Linked DNA regions of Homo sapiens: region 2 is linked to region 1. Evidence: promoter capture Hi-C in 16 types of primary human blood cells and fetal thymus (Javierre and others, 2016). All regions are on one chromosome and are shown on one strand. Each heading gives the region's core, a stretch centred on a gene start or on the middle of the fragment in contact. The rest is flanking DNA. Distances are from core to core; before and after follow the strand shown. Region 1 holds the start of TMEM147 (transmembrane protein 147). Region 2 has its middle 14 kb from the start of LINC01531.

Region 1 (6,383 bases), core at 3,884-6,383:
GCTCGTTGGGCCAGATGATGGAAAGTGGACTGACAGAGCAGGAGACAGGAAGAGGATAACCATGCATGTGTGATGGCTTTGCAGGGCAGCCCATTCATTCATTCATTCAGGCAGTGGAAACAGGAGTGCAGACCCGAGGTGGGACCAGCCACCTGCACTCCAGCAGGCTCTCCCTCTCACTCCCCTCCCCTCTGCCCTGACAGCAGTAAAAAAATGCAAAAAATGACAGCGGTAGCACTTCCTCATCGGGTTGTGAAGGTTACATGAGTTTAATGCAGGTAAGGCACTTAGAATATGGGCACAGGACAGGTGTTCAGTAAACACGTATAAAATGGCTAACTAAAAAAAAAACACGAGGCCAGGTGCAGAGGCTCATGCCTGTCATCCCAGCACTTTGGGAGGCTGAAGTGGGGATCACCTGAGGTCAGGAGTTTGAGACCAGCCTGGCCAACAGAGCAAACCCCGTCACCACTAAAAATACAAAAAACAACAACAATAAAAAACTAGCCAGGTGTGGTAGCGCATGCCTGTAACCCCAACTACTCGGGAGGCGGAGGCAGGAGAATCGCTTGAACCCGGAAGGTGGAGGTTGCAGTGAGCCAAAATCGTGCCACTGCACTCCAGCCTGAGTGACAGAGTGAGACTCTGTCTCAAAAACAAAACAAAACAAAACAAAGAAAACCCATGAGGCCAGGCACGGTGGCTCACACCTGTAATCCCAGCACTGTGGGAGGTCAAGGATCACTTGAGCCCAGGGGTTCTAAAGCACCCTGGGCAACAAAAGTGAGACCCCATCTCTACAAAAAAATTTAAAAATTAGCTTGGCATGGTGGTGTGCGCCTGTAGTCCCAGCTACTCGGGAGGCCAAGGCAGGAGGATGGCCGGAGCCAGGAAGATCAAGGCTGCAGTGAGCTCTGATTGCACCACTGCACTCCAGCCTGGGCGACAGAGGAAGACCCTGTCTCAAAACAAACAAACCCCACAAACATTGATTGAACCCCCCATTGAGGGGAGCAGGCTCAATGGCAAAGGAAACAGACCGACACTGGCCAAGAATCACAGAAGCAAAGCACCCGGTTACTCATGATAAACCTGGGAAGGAAGAAAGTGGAACAGTTTATTCACTTAATGCTTGTTTGCTAAAGCCAAGTAGAAAACGGCAATACTAGATGTTTAGTGTGCTTCAAATACAAATGTTTGTCAAAATACCAAGTAAAAACATAAATTTATAAAACAGGAAACCAGAAACCTCCCTTACCTTTCCAATGTAAACCATGAGCCACTGCTGCCCCAAGGCTGCCTCAGGCTTCAGGAGTCCTCCAGGAGCTTTTTCTTTAATGCAGTGTCTGTTTTCAGGGACCCTCCTGGCCTTTGGCAGCCAGCTTCCTATTGCAGGAGCTGAGGGTCTAGGAGGGTTCATGGCGAGGTTGTCAGAGCTGGGAAGCAGAAAGCAGCCGGGCAGGCCTCACAGTCACAGAGTCCACGTCCCGGGCAGCATATGGAGAAAGGGTCTGGGCTGGCTGACAGCAGTCAGCATTGGCGCCTCTGAGGAGGTTGAGGGCTGAGTTGGGGAGGTCACCACCTGTACCCAGGCATAACAGGGGTGGTGCAATCAGCAAAGGGAAAGTGGTCTGAAGTGGGGCAGTGGTGAAAAGCTAGGCCAGCGGGGTGGAGCCCATCTGGAACAAGTAGGTGTGTGGGGTAGGGGACGCAGGTGGTTGCAGGTGGGCCGGTACCTGCTCAGCCTGTCAAATGGTGAAAGCCATGGACTATGAAGGTGGGGCTCAAGCAGGGGAGACTGACTCAGCCCTGCCACTTCCCCACAGCAAAGAGCCCAAACAGATCCCCTGGAGGGCTGTCGGGAGCCCCTACGTGGTGGAGTCCACAGGCGTGTACCTCTCCATACAGGCAGCTTCGGTAAGCTGGGGAGAGGTGCCCAGGGCTAGCTGGGGGGATGATGGTGCCAGAAGCCCCTGACACCTGCGCTTCCTCCCCAGGACCACATCTCTGCAGGTGCTCAACGTGTGGTCATCTCCGCGCCCTCACCGGATGCACCAATGTTCGTCATGGGTGTCAATGAAAATGACTATAACCCTGGCTCCATGAACATTGTGAGGTAATGTGGGCAGTGACATCCTGCAATGTGTGGAAGGGAGGGTAGACTCGTCCTCCCCACCCTCAGCCCCACTGGATTCCTGGTCGCTTGGCTTCTGCTTCTCCTTCCCGAAACTATCTGCTAAAAACGCATGACTTCCAGAGGACAAGCTTGGGGAGCCTCCCCAGCTGCACCTCAGTGCCTCCTTCAGTCTGACAGTGTCCCCACAGATCCCTCTCACCCTCATCCTGACGTTTCATAAAACCAAGTCTGCGTGCATACCCCAAGAGGGGTAAGGGTGGAGGGGTGGCTCTGCGACTCACCTCACAGTGTCCGTGCACACCTTGGCTGTTTCAGCAACGCGTCCTGCACCACCAACTGTTTGGCTCCCCTCGCCAAAGTCATCCACGAGCGATTTGGGATCGTGGAAGGGTTGATGGTGAGTTGAGGATGAGGGGCTGGGGCAGGAAGGATGGCAGGGAAACCCAACTTCTTCCCGGGCCTTGCTTACTGTATGGAGTTAAGAGGGAGAGACTGGTTTCGGGAGGAGAGGCCCACCAGTGCAGAAGTCACTTAAAACACTGTGCAACCCTCAGGCAAGGCTGGACCCTGGCCTGCACACATCCCCTCCTGTGGTCTGTGGTGGTGGCCCCACCAGCCTCCACACCTAGGCCACCAACTTAGTCCTGGAAAAAAGAGGCATGGGAGCTTAGGAGCATGAAGGCCTCATCTTGGTCCTTCTCTTCCCCAAGACCACAGTCCATTCCTACACGGCCACCCAGAAGACAGTGGACGGGCCATCAAGGAAGGCCTGGCGAGATGGGCGGGGTGCCCACCAGAACATCATCCCAGCCTCCACTGGGGCTGCGAAAGCTGTGACCAAAGTCATCCCAGAGCTCAAAGGGTATGAGGACAAGAAGCTGCAACCAGGGTGGGGGCATACGCCAGGAGGACTGGACTGGCCCGGCCCTCAGTCCTTAAGAGGAAAGCAGGGGCCTGGCCCAGCCACAGGGAAAGGGGGAATGGAGGGCAACGTCCCTAAGTTCTGACTCCTGTTCCTCATGGGGGATTCTCCAGGAAGCTGACAGGGATGGCGTTCCGGGTACCAACCCCGGATGTGTCTGTCGTGGACCTGACCTGCCGCCTCGCCCAGCCTGCCCCCTACTCAGCCATCAAGGAGGCTGTAAAAGCAGCAGCCAAGGGGCCCATGGCTGGCATCCTTGCCTACACCGAGGATGAGGTAGGGGCTGAGGAGAGGAGACCCTGGGAGGAGCCCTCTGGGAAGGGACATGATTTCCACTTGCCAGGGAGCTGCTCTCAATGTGCCAAGTCAGAAACTGCAGGGCAGGAAGGGAGATCTCCCTGCCTCAGGGCCTTTGCACTTGCTGTTCCTTTAGTCTGGAATGCTTCCCTTGCCAGGTGACCATACAGTCTGTCCTTACTTCCTCCAAGTCTCTGGAGGAACCTCCCTCTTCAGCAAGGCACCCCCTCAAAATATGTTCTTTTTGTGGCCATATTCCTCACCTGAAATTTCATTTCATAGTCACTGTTGGCCCCAGTGGTGTGTGCACTCCAAGAAAACAGGGATTTAGGGGCTGCCTTTTCACTTTTGTGGCTCCAACCTGGCATACAGCAGGTGACTAATACATGCTTAGTGAACAAAAGACAACAGCTCCCATTTTTTTCAATACTTGCTCAGGGCCAGGCCATGGCCAGATGCCTTCTCTGTGAGGAGTGGATGCCATGGTCATGGTGGACCCCTGTACATCCACCTTGGTGCTGTCTCCCTGCATTAACTCCTGCAGGTCCACTTTCCCACAGTCACTGGGATCTTTTGTTTTAATGGAATCACATTGCATCACCCGTTTTCAGGATTGAAAACACTCCTGTGGCCTTTCATGACACTAGGGCTAAAACCCTCAGGTCCTCCCTTCCTGCAGCTCCTTCTACCTCAGACACTGTGCTGAGGGCCCCAGCCGGTCAGATCTTTCTAGTCATCTAGACCCAGGCTCATGGCCACCCCTCAGAGAGGCCCTCCATGCTGGCCCATTCCAAACGCTTGCATTATTCCTAGGAAAGGGATGTACTGGTACAGCATGAGGGTGTTTGTGACCTGTGCCCTTTGGCCAGACCCTGACACAGTGCCTTGGTCATACCCTGCACTTGGTCATACCCTCCAGTCCAGAGACTGGACACAGTAGGGCTACATCAAATATTATAGATGAATGCATGGATGGGCGATAGAGTTAAGAGTCGGGGCCTCAGCTCCTGGAGGTCCTTGCTCTGCCGGACACACTTATCTTTGAAATTCTGACTTCCAGGTCGTCTCTACGGACTTCCTCGGTGATACCCACTCGTCCATCTTCGATGCTAAGGCCGGCATTGCGCTCAATGACAATTTCGTGAAGCTCATTTCATGGTAAGGGGGAAGGAGCTGGAGACTTAGAGGGAGGGGAACTAAGGGGTGGTCGGAAGGAACCCCCTTGAACCTCCCGACCCCTCCTCCACAGGTACGACAACGAATATGGCTACAGTCACCGGGTGGTCGACCTCCTCCGCTACATGTTCAGCCGAGACAAGTGAAACGGGAAGGTCCTTTCTTTCCTTCCCAGGGGCCGGGGCCGGAACATGTGCCTCCCGTTCCAGCATCTGGCTGCCCGGGGGAGGAAGGACACCCGGGGCGGGCGCCCCACGCCGATGGGTCCATGGTGAAATAAAAAACAGTGCTCACGGCTGCGTCCCGTATCTCTGCGCCGGTCAGGGCGGGTTCTGATCCGGGTTTGAGGCCCGCCCCACCCTTACTCGATCGCCTGCGCCCACGGGCGAGGGGTCGCGCTCGACTCCAAGCCGGGTTCCACTTCAGGAGACCGGGACCGCGATGGCAGCGGTAGAGGCCCCGCATGGCCGGAAGTCACTCCCCAAAGCGCTGGGCCGGCAGCGGTGGGACCCAGGGCCGGCCACGGGCTCTCTGACGTCACTGGGCGCGACGCCCCGCGCCGGGACTACTGCTCCCAGAAGGTCGCGCGCGGGCCCCCGCCAGTCAGGTGGGTGCCAGGCCCTGGCCGTGGCGAAAGAGCCGGCGGAGCCGGAGACCCGCTCCCGGAGACGCCGCCTCGCGATCCCCGCGCGGGCGGGACCGGGCGGCCGGCATCATGACCCTGTTTCACTTCGGGAACTGCTTCGCTCTTGCCTACTTCCCCTACTTCATCACCTACAAGTGCAGCGGCCTGTGAGTGCGGGAAGGGCGCGGGGCGGAGAGGGCGCGGGGCCCGGGCCGACCCTCACCTCCCGCTTCTCCAGGTCCGAGTACAACGCCTTCTGGAAATGCGTCCAGGCTGGAGTCACCTACCTCTTTGTCCAACTCTGCAAGGTGAGGGCCACCGGGAAGCCACGTGTTCTGGCCCCCAGGCTCTGCAGACCCAGGGACCCGCCCCCGTTGCCTATCCGCGCCCCCGCCGCCCCACGGTGGGACCGCCCTCGGGACTCCGCACTGGGAGGCGTCAGGATACCTAGAGAGGATGGACTTTAAAGAGGGCACGACCTGAGAAGAGACCTAGAAGCAACTTTTGCGTAGCACTTAGTAAAACTGAGAAAACCTCAGTAGTGTGGTTGGCTAACAGGTTTTTTTTGGTGCGGTTAAGAGTGATCACTGATTCCGTACGTGCTGCTAACACTGCCCAAGGAGCAGCACCTTCAGACCTGACTCAGATGCCCTGTGATCACCCAGAACTCAAACTTCCAGCCCCCTCGGGGACCCGGGGACCTATCCTCTATCTCCCCGATTCCTGTAATTTTGCCACCATCTGGTGGTTCCTCTTCCAGATGGGCCCCCAGAACCTGTCCTGCCCTCTTCCTACCCACGAACTTCCCACAAATCCCACGTGGTTTATCTTGATCCCCTCACCTTGAAGTGACCTCTTTCTGCTTTCTGTTCTCAGATGCTGTTCTTGGCCACTTTCTTTCCCACCTGGGAAGGCGGCATCTATGACTTCATTGGGGTGAGAGGGGCCAGGGAAGGGAAGGGAGTTCAGGAATGGGGCTCCCTGTCCCCCTGTGCTTACTTAAGCCTCAACCTGACCCGCAGGAGTTCATGAAGGCCAGCGTGGATGTGGCAGACCTGATAGGTCTAAACCTTGTCATGTCCCGGAATGCCGGCAAGGGAGAGTACAAGATCATGGTTGCTGCCCTGGGCTGGGCCACTGCTGAGCTTATTATGTCCCGGTGCGTACAGCAGCCTGGAGCCCAGACCCCTGAGAAGGGACACCTGGGTTCCACGGGGGTGCTGGAG
Region 2 (5,827 bases), core at 1,945-4,444, 150 kb before region 1:
GGCAAGAAAAATCCTTCAGGCAATTATAGCCCAACCTGGCTTTGAACAGCAACATAAAAACCTGGATACATGGAACTCCATCCCACTTTCCCATTCAACAGCAAAATGAGACCCATGGAGGGGCCAGAGCGTTGCAAAAGAATATCCATTGATCAAATTCTCGTTTCTCACAACTATATTGACACACACACACATAAACAAACAATTATCAAAAGCAATTCAACTGCTACAGCAACAAACAAGCCCCAAGTGTGTCCATACTAAAACAGCTGGGGTGCCTTCCTCTCTCAGTTGGTTTTTAAAGGCCAAACCAAACCTTTGGTGGGCAGAAGCCTAGGGAGTGGGTTCTGCTAATTGGTTGGGGGTAAAACTGTAGGGGTGTGGAAAATGGTCCTCGTGCACTGAGTCTGCCTCTGGGTGGGAACCACAGAACCAGTTGAGTCATGAGTCATGGGTTCGGGTGGGGTCAGTGCGTTATCAGAGTGCAAAAGTTGATCTTGTTCCATCTGCAAACAGAAATATCTTCTGAGTTTCCCAAATCAAGAGAAGCCCTCTGGTACCCACCAGAAATCACTCACATGTCCAGACGCAGTTGTGCACACACACAATTACTAATGTCAACAAAAAGAGTCAAACTCTGTAAAATATTTGAAGAGATTTATTCTGAGCCAAATATGAGTGACCATGGCCCATGACACAGTCCCCAGGAGGTCCTGAGAACATGTGCCCAAGGTCGTTGGGGTGCAGCTTGGTTTTATACATTTTAAGGAGGCATGAGACATCAATCAAATACATTTAAGATATACATTTGTTTGGCCCAGAAAGGCGATACAACTCAAAGCAGGGTGGGGCTTCCAGGCTATAGGTAAATTTAAACATCTTCTGGTTGACAATTGGTTGAGTTTGTCTAAAGACCTGGGATCATAGAAAGGAAATGTTCAGGTTAAAAGATTGTGGAGACCAAGGTTCTTTTGAAGTCTTACAGTGGCTGCCCTTAGAAACAATAGTTGACAAATGTTTCCTATTCAGACCTTTAAAAGGTGCTAGACTCTTAGTTAATCTCTTCAGGATTGGGAGGGCCTGAAAGAAAAAGATCTAGCTATGTTAATAGAGATTCTTTACAGATGCACATTTCCCCCCCACAAAGGACAACTTTGCAGGGCCATTTCAAAATATGGCAAAGAAACATGTTTTGGGGTAAAATATTATGACTTTCTTCTTTGTCGTGTAATGTTATACCAGAGTAAGATTGGAAAGTAAGTCACAATATGTAAGTTAAATAAAACCCATCTGGGCTGGGCATGGTGGCTCACGCTTGTAATCCCTGCACTTTTGGAGGCTGAGGCAGGCAGATCACCTGAGGTCAGGAGTTCGAGAACAGCCTGGCCATTATGGTGAAACCCCATCTCTACGAAAAATACAAAAATTGGCAGGGCGTAGTGGCAGGCACCTGTAATTCCAGCTACTCGTGAGGCTGAGGCAGGAGAATTGCTTGAACCCAGGAGGCAGAGGTTGCAGTGAGCTGAGATCGCACCATTGCACTCCAGCCTGGGCAACAGAGTAAGACTGTCTCAACAACAACAACAAAAATCTGATGAGAATTTATGGTTTGTAGAGCATGACTTCTCTAGACCCCTTAGATAGGAATTTGGGCAAGATTTTAAAAATCAGAGCTTAGTTCTCACTAACAAGCCCCAAGAGTGTCCAAACTGAAACAGTCATGGTGCTTTCCTCCCTCCATCATTTGGGCTTATTCAACCTGCAAATGGAAATTCCTTAGAAAATTCCCAAATTGAGAGGAGCCCTTCCTGCTGTCTGGAACCCAGAAAAGACACTCATCCATCCAGACACAGATATCAAATTTCAAAGTCTGTTCTTCCTAGGCAATCAGCAATACATTTGGGGCTGGCAGCAGCAGAGCCAAAGAGAAAAAGATGGAAACCCACCTCCAGCCAAAAAAAGGTCAGACAGCTGTACAGGGGGCTTCTGAAAGTCCCAGTCTGCAGCAGCTGAGCCACAAGCAATGTGTTCCCAGGTAGGGAACCAAAATCTGTTACTGAAATGCCAGGGCTCCAGTCTAGGTCCCGTTGCTCACTGCACAGAAAGCCAATCACCAAGACAATGAGTACTGCCTGGGAAGAAGGCTTTAATTGAGTGCTTTAGCCAAGGAAAATGGGGATCAGTCTCAAATCCATCTCCCTAGTCAACTAAAATCAGGGGGTTATACAGCAGGGAAGAAATGTAACTACATGTGGGAAAACCAGAGTTAGGGAGAGGTAAGGAAGAGGAGTTGGTCAAAGGAATTAGGGAGGGATAAGGAAATCAGGAGGGATGAGGGGTCTGGCATCTCATTGTCTGGATGCAGTGATCTGGTGAGTTTCAATTCGTTGATTTCCTGTGGCAAGAACTCAGATAAGACAAATGCAGGCTTCAAACTTTAAGACCAGGAGGGGGCCAGGCACAGTGGCTCATGCCTGTAATCCCAGCACTTTGGGAGCCCGAGGTGGGTGGATCACGAGGTCAGGAGATCAAGGCCATCCTGGCTAACACAGTGAAACCCTGTCTCTACTAAAAATACAAAAAATTAGCCGGGTTTGGTGGCATGTGCCTGTAGTCCCAGCTACTCAGGAGACTGAGGCAGGAGAATTGCTTGAACCTGGGAAGCAGAGGTTGTAGTGAGCCAAGATCGCACCACTGCACTCCAGCCTGGGCAACAGAGAAAGACTCCATCTAAAAAAAAAAAAAAAAAAAAAAAAAGAAGGGTGAATTTCTACGTTGATCCAAAAGAAGCATCTATGGGACAATCAGGCCAGTTTCATGAGGAATATAAATTGGATCCTGTCATTGCCCTGAATAAAACTTTTCAATGGCTTTCCATTCTGGCCTCCTCCTCACAGCCTTTGAGGCCCTGCCTCTCTCTCCAAGCTTCTCTGGGGCCATCCCCAGAGAAGTGTCACTGACATCGCTCTTCTGGCCTGGACTTCTCTCTGTCCCTTGAGCAGGCCAAGCTCTGAATGTCTGCATGCACCATGCCTTCCACTCTTTACCTGGCTAGTTCCCCACTTCTTCCAAGTTTCTGTCCAATGTCACGCCTTAGAGAGGCTTTCCCTGATCATCCAATATCAAGTAGCCCCCTTCTGATATTATCTCACACTGCGCTCTCATGGTTTGATGTTTGTATGTGTGTGTTCATTTGTTTAACGTGACTCCTACTAGACTGAGAAGCCCATGACAGCAGTCACCACGTCAGTTTTCTTTGTCACTATATACCCAGTGGGTGCCTAAAACCGTGCCTAGCACAGACTGGGCATTTGATGGTGAATAAATGAATGAATGATTTTTTAAAAATATCTCTAATTTTCTACTATTATAAATAATGCTATGAGAACATCCTTTTACATAAAGGCACGTGCACTGTGCATTTCCTACAAGTCGTACTGTTGAATTAAATGATATGTACATGTAAAGCTTTGATAAATATCGATGAATTACCTTCCCCGGCTGAGTCAACCCTTTCTTCCCCAACAGTCTGTAAGAGACCCCATAACTCTGCTGACAAGAGAAAATATTGTATTTTAATTTTTTGAGATGATATTTAGAATTTAGAAACTTAAGTATTAGTCTGGGATTTCCAGAGAAACAGAACCAATAGAGTGTGTGTATGTGTGTCTGTGGGTGTGTCTGTGTGTCTGTGTCTCTGTGCATGTGTCTGTGTGTGTATGTGTGTCTCTGCGGTGTGTGTGTGTCTGTGTGTGTGTCTGTGTATGTATCTGTGTGTGTGTCTCTGTGCATGTCTGTGTGTGTCTCTGTGTGTGTGTACCTCTGTGTGTCTCTGTATGTTTTTGTATGTGTGTCTCTGTCTGTGTCTCTATGTGTGTCTCTGTGTGCATGTCTGTGTGTGTGTTTCTCTCTGTGTGTGTTTTTGTGTGTGTCTGTATATGTGTCTCCATGTGTGTGTCTGTATGTCTCTGTGTGCGTCTGTGTGCATGTATGTTTGTGGCTCTGTGTGTTAATGTGTGTCTCTGTGTATGTGTTTCTGTGTGCATGTTTGTATGTGTTTCTGTGTGTCTCTGTGTGTTTTTGTGGGTCTGTGTGTCTCTCTGTGTGTGTGTATATCTCTCTGTGTCTGTGTGTGTCTCTGTGTTTCTGTGTGCATGTCTGTGTGTGTGTCCATGTGTGTGTCTGTGTGTTACTGTGTGTCTCCGTGTGTGTGTCTGTGTGTTTCTGTGTGTGTGTTTGTGTGTGTGTGTGTGTGTGTCTGCATGTCTGCATGTGTGTATAAAGAGATTTATTTAAGGAATTGGCTCATGTGATTGTGAATGCTTGATGAGCCCAAAATCTGACGGAGGAAGCTGGCTGACTCGAGGCTCAGGAAGAAGTTGTGGTTGAGTCTAAAGAGAGCCTGCTGGTGAGCCAGGAAGACCCACTGCTGCAGACAAAGTCTGAATCCAGCATGCAGGAGAATTCTCTTTTGCATGTGGAGGTCAGCCTTTTGTGCTGTTCAGGCCTTCAGTGACTGGAGGAGTCCCCCACATTTTGGAGGGCAATCTGCTTTGCTCAGAGTCCACCAATGTAAATGTCAATCTCATCCAAAAACACCCTCACAGCAACACCCAGAATAACGTTTCACCAAATATCTGGGCACTGTGGCGTGGCCAAGCCAACACATAAAATTAACCGTCATACTCTGTATTATTTTCATATTAATCTCCCAGATTAAAAATGAGATAGACAATATTTACATATTGTGTAGAGTCATTTGTGTTTCTCCCAATACTTGCTTTGTTCTTATTTGACTTACAGGAGTTCTTTGAATATTGGCTTACAAACCTCATATCAGGTGTATAAGTAGAAGGATAGTGGCCTTTTACTTTGTTGATTGTAATGTTTTTCATAGGTTATCTCTTTTTATGTGCTCAAATTTCTCATCATTTTTTGATGACTTCTACATTATGTCATACTGGGAAAAAGCCTCCTTATTTATAAGACTTTTAAAATTACACAATACCTACACAACATTTATTATTTTTAAAAACATTTTTGATCTTGAATGCACCTGCCTTTTATTCTTGTTACCTGGCTGTAATTCTTCCCAGTGGATAGGCAGCTATCCCAACATAATTTACTGAATAGTCCATCCTTTCCTACAGTGGTTTGAAATGAACCTGGATCACTTAAGTAGGAAGAATCCTCTAAATGTAATCTAAAACAACAAGATTTCATCATTTTTACCCATCCTTACCCATAATGAGGAAAAACATTAAAGATTCAAACATCCAGTGTTGGAGAAGGTGCAGGGGAAGGGATTCTGCCATGTACAGCTGGTGGAAATGTAAATTACCAAACACTATCAGGAAGGTAATATGCAAATATCTATCAACAATTTCAAGGCATACCTCTTTGAACTAGCAATTACATAAATTATAGATCTAAAGATTCATCTAACCAAAATACTCACACCTGTTCAGATAGCTAGCTAGCTAGCTAGATAGAAAGATGATAGATAGATAGATAGATAGGTAATAGATAAATTTGCAGAGGCACTGTTTGTTATACCAAGAGAACTGTAAACTATGTAAATTAATCCTAAATGGTTACATAAATTATAAGACAGTCCTAAAATGAAATACCATGTAGCCATTAGAAAGACTCTAGATTGGTATAGGCTGCCATGAAAAGATCACTAAAGCATATTGTAAGGTGAAAAATAAAATTTCAAAAAAAATATGGAGTATGATTCCATTTATGCTTTTTCTTTTCTTTTTTTGAGATGGAGTCTTGCTCTGTCACCCAGGCTGGAGTGCAGTGGTGCCATCTCGGCCCACTG

What was found. Contacts are between HindIII fragments. The CHiCAGO score rates a contact against its expected background, and 5 or more counts as called.
Region 2: a contact is called between a fragment that was not itself captured here and the fragment with the promoter of TMEM147 in region 1, in 1 of 17 cell types (M0 macrophages). The highest score is 5.0, in M0 macrophages.

The regions. Positions count from the first base shown.
Region 1 is chr19:35,540,493-35,546,875 of GRCh38, forward strand. TMEM147 (transmembrane protein 147) reads left to right here and starts at 5,134. Exons shown (of 7, transcript NM_032635.4): 1 at 5,134-5,324; 2 at 5,396-5,465; 3 at 6,034-6,093; 4 at 6,180-6,316. The coding sequence starts at 5,248. It overlaps GAPDHS (glyceraldehyde-3-phosphate dehydrogenase, spermatogenic), which reads left to right. Exons shown (of 11, transcript NM_014364.5): 5 at 1,827-1,917; 6 at 1,998-2,116; 7 at 2,453-2,534; 8 at 2,848-2,999; 9 at 3,173-3,335; 10 at 4,417-4,514; 11 at 4,606-4,827. The coding sequence ends at 4,678. TMEM147-AS1 (TMEM147 antisense RNA 1) reads right to left here and starts at 5,537. Exons shown (of 4, transcript NR_038396.1): 1 at 5,445-5,537; 2 at 2,419-2,781; 3 at 1,259-1,582; 4 at 246-1,092. RefSeq lists enhancers at 1-140, 2,535-3,036, 4,751-5,443 and a silencer at 5,136-5,715. The HindIII fragment of the contact is 5,741 bases long and covers 2,264-6,383 here.
Region 2 is chr19:35,389,160-35,394,986 of GRCh38, forward strand. No RefSeq gene overlaps it. Among named protein-coding and RNA genes, the nearest start is that of LINC01531, 14 kb to the right of the region's middle. The HindIII fragment of the contact is 543 bases long and covers 2,924-3,466 here.